2 separate regions of the Homo sapiens genome follow, and region 1 is linked to region 2. The links are contacts of gene promoters, found by promoter capture Hi-C in human tissues and cell types (Jung and others, 2019). All regions are on one chromosome and are shown on one strand. Each heading gives the region's core, a stretch centred on a gene start or on the middle of the fragment in contact. The rest is flanking DNA. Distances are from core to core; before and after follow the strand shown. Region 1 overlaps RYR2 (ryanodine receptor 2). Region 2 holds the start of HEATR1 (HEAT repeat containing 1).

Region 1 (3,500 bases), core at 25-2,524, 1.1 Mb after region 2:
AGATTTTGAAAGTGGGGATATTTCATGGTGAAAGGTAAAGCTGTGATATGGAAGGATGGTACCTGGCACCAAGCACTAGGAAACAGAGTAACACAAATTAGGATTGGTCACAGAGAGGAAAAGAGAAGATTCCACATTTTATTTTTTATTTTTTTTATTTTTTATTGATCATTCTTGGGTGTTTCTCGCAGAGGGGGATTTGGCAGGGTCATAGGACAATAGTGGAGGGAAGGTCAGCAGATAAACAAGTGAACAAAGGTCTCTGGTTTTCCTAGGCAGAGGACCCTGCGGCCTTCCGCAGTGTTTGTGTCCCTGGGTACTTGAGATTAGGGAGTGGTGATGACTCTTAACGAGCATGCTGCCTTCAAGCATCTGTTTAACAAAGCACATCTTGCACCGTCCTTAATCCATTTAACCCTGAGTGGACACAATACATGTTTCAGAGAGCACAGGGTTGGGGGTAAGGTCACAGATCAACAGGATCCCAAGGCAGAAGAATTTTTCTTAGTACAGAACAAAATGAAAAGTCTCCCATGTATACTTCTTTCTACACAGACACGGCAACCATCTGATTTCTCAATCTTTTCCCCACCTTTCCCCCCTCTCTATTCCACAAAACCGCCATTGTCATCATGGCCCGTTCTCAATGAGCTGTTGGGTACACCTCCCAGACGGGGTGGTGGCCTGGCAGAGGGGCTCCTCACTTCCCAGTAGGGGCGGCCGGGCAGAGGCGCCCCTCACCTCCCGGACGGGGCGGCTGGCCGGGCGGGGGGCTGACCCCCCCCACCTCCCTCCCGCACGGGGCGGCTGCCGGGCGGAGGGGCTCCTCACTTCTCAGACGGGGCAGTTGCCAGGCAGAGGGTCTCCTCACTTCTCAGACGGGGCGGCCGGGCAGAGACGCTCCTCACATCCCAGACGGGGCGGCAGGGCAGAGGCGGTCCCCACATCTCAGAGGATGGGCGGCCGGGCAGAGACGCTCCTCACTTCCTAGATGTGATGGCGGCTGGGAAGAGGCGCTCCTCACTTCCTAGATGGGATGGCGGCCGGGCAGAGACGCTCCTCACTTTCCAGACTGGGCAGCCAGGCAGAGGGGCTCCTCACATCCCAGATGATGGGCGGCCAGGCAGAGACGCTCCTCACTTCCCAGACGGGGTGGCGGCCGGGCAGAGGCTGCAATCTCGGCATTTTGGGAGGCCAAGGCAGGCGGCTGGGAGGTGGAGGTTGTAGCGAGCCGAGATCACGCCACTGCACTCCAGCCTGGGCACCATTGAGCACTGAGTGAACGAGACTCCGTCTGCAATCCTGGCACCTCCAGAGGCCGAGGCTGGCGGATCACTTGCGGTTAGGGGCTGGAGACCGGCCTGGCCAACACAGCGAAACCCCGTCTCCACCAAAAAAATACGAAAACCAGTCAGGCGTGGCGGCGCGCGCCTGCAATCGCAGGCACTCGGCAGGCTGAGGCAGGAGAATCAGGCAGGGAGGTTGCAGTGAGCCGAGATGGCAGCTGTACAGTCCAGCTTCGGCTCGGCATCAGAGGGAGACCGTGGGGAGAGGGAGACTGTGGGGAGAGGGAGACTGGAGAGGGAGAGGGAGAGGGAGAGGGAGACGGGAGAGGGAGAGGGAGAGGGAGAAGATTCCACATTTTTAATTGCCTATTTCAAAATGCTGCTCAGGGATAATATGCCTGTATTCTAAAACCACCCCATAAATGTTTGTTAAATGAATGATTAATTCATTGTTTGGCTCATGGATGCATGGATGAATGGATGGATGGCAAATGAGTCATAGAGTTTTGTTTTGTGAAATTCTTGACAGGGTATTGCCCACATAACTGGTAAACAAAATCACTGCTTATTACATGAGCAGATTACATGAAAAAATGTCTGTTCCTTTTTTTAAACTATGTTTAAGTCACTGTGGTACAGTTAAATTAAAAATAATAAGCAGCTATCTTATTACAGGTTGATTATCCCTTATCCAAAATGTTTGGAACCAAAACTGTTTGAAAGTTGAGATTTTTTTCTGATTTTTTAAATATTTGCATATACTTACTGGTTCAGCATCCCAAATCCCAAATCCAAAAGCTTAAATGCTCCAATAAGTGTTTCCTTTGAGCATCATGTAGATACTCAAAAAGTTTCTGATTTTGGAACATTTGGATTTCAGATTTTTAGATTAGACCTATTCAACCTATATGCTTTTCTAAATAAGCATGATAGAAAATCATCATTATTTAAATTTCTGAGCCAGATCGATATTTTCTTTAAGTCATACCACTCGTAAATGGCACATCCATACTTCTGCATACAACTTGTACTGGCTCAAATTTGTATTCTGTAGTTGGGAAACTAACCTAGTGGCAGCAGACTAAGTGGTGAGGTAGGGGAAATTAGTCCTCGCAGTCTTTAATTCTCTTACTGCATGTATGGATCTCATTTTTAAAGAGGAACTAGTTTAGAACCAAAATGGCAGACCAGTAGGAAACGTGTTGAACTATACAGTCAGGATCCTGGCTTTTAGGTTATTGAGATTAGCAAACCAGAGAAATGAGTCTTGGGCATAGAAGATAGGTTACAGACTGTGGCCAGTTTCAGAGCAGAAACGACATGTGTCTTTTTTTCAAAGTTGTTTTCTCACTCAGAGACATTAATAGTGGGGAGGATCCTTATAGCCAACAGTTGTAGGCAGTTGCATCCTGCCAGCTCTACTCCCACTGCCGATAAGAGGTAGGTGGGAGGAATCTGTCACCACCTGATGTCTTGGTGCCTGGGTGTGTGTGTGTGTGTGCGTGTGTGTGTGTGTGTGTGCGTGTGAGAGAGAGAGAAATAGAAATAAGAAGTCAGAAACACTAAAAGAATCAGGGCCAAAGCTGCACAGTTTTGTTTTCACCCATTCTCTTCTCTTTTATCATCCCTGCATCTGTGCAGAGAAGATGAATCTGCTTTAGGGAAATCAGGAGAAAAATGCCTCCTTTGCTTGCCTTAGTCATCTGATCCTCAGTGCTCTTTTGGAATCTAGAAAAGTCTGAGGGAAAATCAGATGCCATAAGGAGTTAATAGAAATAAAGGAGTGTAAGTCCAAAAAGTATGATTAGTGCCCCCAAATTAGTAAAAAATGTTATTTTCCCACTGCCACTTCAAGTATTTTGTACCATGGTCATCTGTTGTTAAGCCACAGACAGCCCACTGCTGTCAAGCATTTTTTTACTGTTTAGTATGAATGGGTTCATGAGTCCGTGCTGGTATGTTTGGTAATATCCTCAGAGTTACTGCTCACTCATTTACCTCTCCATGTAGCTGATTTCCTTCAGCACAAGATGTCTACACCCATATCATAAATGGGAAAGTTGAGGGTGGAGGAGCAACGTAAATGTCCACGGTCACACTGCTAGTTAGAGGCACAGTGCTAGTTCAGTCACCTGGCAGGCTTTCAGATCCCTTCGCCATCTAGTTCAATGAAGGTCGAAGAGGGTGAGAAGAGTTTCAGAGTTAGTGGGTACT
Region 2 (3,698 bases), core at 951-3,450:
TGACTCAAGAAACTTAATCCCTCTAAGCCTCAGTTTTCTCAACTGTAAAACAAGGATAATACAAATAATCTCACCAGAGGAATGCTGTGAGAATTAAATGAGATAATGCAGATAAAGTGCTTACCAGGGCCTAGTGTATAAATGCTCAAAAACACATTAGCTATCATTGTTTTTCTCAAGCAATGGTATTTCAGAGGATAACATTGCCTGCTTCCCCAACCATCTTGTTATTTTGCCAAGAAAGCAGCTTAGTACTCACTGCCTCAAGTGTGCAGGAACAAGCTGTAATGGCAAAGTAGCATGGGCTCTTCAGAACTAACGAGGTTAGGCTGGGCGAGGTGGCTCACACCTGTAATCCCAGTATTTTGGGAGGCCGAGGCGGGTGGATCACCTGAGGTCAGGGGTTAAAGACCAGCCTGGCTAACACGGTGAAACTCCATCTCTACAAAAACACAAAACTCATCCAGGCATTATGGCAGGTGCCTGTAATCCCAGCTACTTGGGAGGCTGAGGTGGGAGAATCACTTGAACCTGGGAGGCAGAGGTTGCAGTGAGCCAAGATTTCAATATTGCACTCCAGCCTGAGTGCCCAGCAAGACTCTATCTCAAAAAAAAACTAATGAGGTTAGACCATTTACTCAAAATCACCAGTAGTTCTACTTTTCACTATCAACAAAAAAGAATTTAAAGGCAGAAGAGCATGCTTATCTCACACAATGGACATTGTATCAATCTCTTAATATACCTAATTTTTCAGCTTTAATTTGATAAGTTCTCAACTACTTAATTTTTTACAAGACCAAAGTGATTAACCCATAGTTATTTCTGTAATTCTATTAGCTACCTGTGAATCAACCACTCCAGACACTTCTGTGCTGGCTTAAGCAGGAAGTAAGGCGACAAGTGAATAAGGAATAATGAAATGTTTTCATCCAACTGTTTGTTTACTGCTTTGGTCTGAACACTTCGCTCCAAGGTTTTTGCTAGCTGACTGAACAACGGTGCTTCAAACTGCTCAAAGGAAGGATCAATTCCAAGCAACTCTTCCAGGCCAGTACATCCTAAATTTCAAAAAAGGCCAGTTTATTTAACAATTCTTCGTAAGCAAATTCATCCCACCCCTCTTTTACAGTTTTACTTACCCCTAAGAAGTTTCTGAATTCTTTAAGTACATATAATTTATAATACAGTCCCAAACACTGATTTCTAGTTTTCAACTTTTAGAGTAAATCCTATCTCATCTACTAGAACAGAAAGTACTTCGTGGCAGGGAACACTTTTTTTTTTTTTTTTTTGGATATCCCCTACAATAACTAGGCCAGTCCTCTGAGAGGACTTCTCCGTCACCCCAGTCACTGCCTCCATCCCCCTTTTAGCTGTTCTTCTCTTTGACATATTAGTTGACCTCTCTAATTTTGTTTCTTCATCTGTGAAATCCAGATACCTCTACTCATAAACATTTCAAGCACCAAGCACCTGACTGTTATGTTCTCTTTCCCTTAAAAATATACATCAACATGCTAGAAACTGCTAAGGAAGAGGACGGGACAGAAGAGAAAACAAGGGGAAAAAAAAAAAACAGTAACATCCAGAAAACAAACGCTTCCAAGAGCTTTTCTAAGTTAAAAGATGGCTCACCAATGGCGAAGGCGGTGTCCCTGTCGATTGTGGCCGCTTCCTTAGGGTCAAATAACAAAGAAGCAACTTCATCTCTAGATAAGAGGCTGGCATCACTTTGAGGGAGGGCGAGTCGTTGCAGCTGCTGGGCTAAGGACGTCATCTTTCACGCCAGCGGAGTTTTAATGACACGGGCTAAAAAAACGTAAGCACTTTGATAAGTTTCTACGAAATTATAAGGCGCCTCGTAAACAAACAATTCTCTTCTGCACTCAGCACCGTCATGGACACACAACGCGGGTGTCCTGAGATTTGTGGACCCCGGAGATGCAAAGACGATGGCAGCAGCGTTAACAACTAATTACAGTAGCGGCGACCGCGCCAAGGCTTTCCTTCAACCCTGATTCCGCAGATATCCGGAAAACTCTTACCCTCCCTCGATATGCCGCCCCCATCCGCAGCCACATCAAGCGGCTCTGTGCCGCTTACCTGGAACTGGGAATTTGGGTATATCTTGGAAGGCAACAACTCTTCACAGCGCTTCCCACATGGTACCAAGGAGCCCAACCCTCACCCGGAAACCTAAGGCATGCTGTAGAGCAACTTCCTGCTGCAGGCGCTACGGCAAGTGAAGAGGTTCAAGCTTGCCGGGAATGCGACGAGACAGCTCCGCCTCCCGAGACGAAAGCCCGCCCCTCAGCCCGCCGGACTCAGGCTCAAGTCTGAGCTTCGCCTCTGTAGCTCCGGTTTAGCGGTCTGCTCTGCGGCTTGTGTCTGAAGCTTTCGGTCTCTGGATGGGCCTTCTGTGGGCTTTAAGGATCCGTAGCCAGAATCATTCATTCAGTAGTGATCCAGCCTTTACTAGGTGCCAGCAGCACCGCGTAGTGTTGAAAGCTATGGGTTGTGAAGTCACGTGGTTTGGGTTCAAATCCTGGCGCTGGCGCCTGTCGGCCGGGTTAACGCCACCAAATTATTTCATCTCTCCGAGCTTGTTACTCACTCTACAAAGTGGGAAGAGGCCGAGATTGTCGTGAAAGGAGCTTCTGCTCCTAGTGCAAACCGATCTATAAATGCTGGACTCCACCGCCCCAGAGCTTGGGGGAGATCTTGTCACTCCTCTATGTTTCCATTCCCGAGGGGTAAATGGCATATATTTTTTTCTTTCAAAACGAATCATAGTCAGGCGCGGCCTGTAATCCGAGCACTTTGGGAAGCTCAGGCGAGCTGATCACCTGAGGTCAGGAGTTCGGGACCAGCCTGGCCAACATAGCGAAACCCCGTCTCTACTAAAAATAAAAGAATTAGCCGGACGTGGTGGCGGGCGCCTGTAATCCCAGCTACTAGGAAAGCTGAGACAGAAGAATCGCTGGAACCCGGGAGTCGGAGGTTGCAGTGGGCCAAGATTGCACCACTGCACTCCACAGAGCGAGACTGTCTCAATAAATAAATTAATCGAATCCTGTTGAGGTATAATTTACAAACAATGGTTACACCCACGTCAGTGGAAGAGTTTGATGACTTTTAGCAAATGCATGTATAGGTGTAATGACCTCCCCAGTCAAAATGACAGTTTCCATCGCCCCTAAAAATTGTCTCTTGCCTGTTTGCGAAGATTCCCGCAACCACTGGTCTTGGCCTCACTACAGATAGTGTTGCGGAAGAGTATCCTTATGTATGAATATAGCTAATCTGTTTCCAAAACACCGGTATGCGCTAGAACTAGGATGAACTGACGTCTTCCAGACGAAGGAGTGAGATCTGATGCTCTGTCTTTTCTGGATGCATTAATTTCTCTGAAGAGCTCTGCGGGGCCAGGGGGTCAAGTCTTTCTGTAACCGTCTTCCCTGGAGAATGTCAGAAACACAGCTACAAATTTGGAGGCCCTGGTTGTCTATACCTCATGCAGATTCTCTCCCATTTACAAACAGAATCTTTTGTTGTTGGTTTGCTTTAAAAGCATTTAAAACAACCAAATATTTTCTTCAGTTATTAGTATTTCTACTGACTGTTAATAATCTTCTTTTCATGTGGTGTTGAGTGCCTTGCAGAGAATAACATGAAAATTCTAGTAGTACCTATTT

Evidence for each region. The method cuts DNA at HindIII sites, captures the fragments that hold promoters and counts their contacts. A contact is called where the count stands out against the background at its distance.
Region 1: a contact is called between a fragment that was not itself captured here and the fragment with the promoter of HEATR1 in region 2, in 1 of the 25 tissues and cell types used here (dorsolateral prefrontal cortex).

Annotation. Positions count from the first base shown.
Region 1 is chr1:237,668,733-237,672,232 of GRCh38, forward strand. All of the region lies in intron 58 of RYR2 (ryanodine receptor 2), which reads left to right. Among named protein-coding and RNA genes, the nearest start is that of MIR4428, 200 kb to the left of the region's middle. The HindIII fragment of the contact is 5,329 bases long and covers 1-3,500 here.
Region 2 is chr1:236,602,316-236,606,013 of GRCh38, forward strand. HEATR1 (HEAT repeat containing 1) reads right to left here and starts at 2,201. Exons shown (of 45, transcript NM_018072.6): 1 at 2,107-2,201; 2 at 1,639-1,812; 3 at 845-1,061. The coding sequence starts at 1,780. RefSeq lists an enhancer at 2,142-2,401. The HindIII fragment of the contact is 3,901 bases long and covers 1-3,138 here.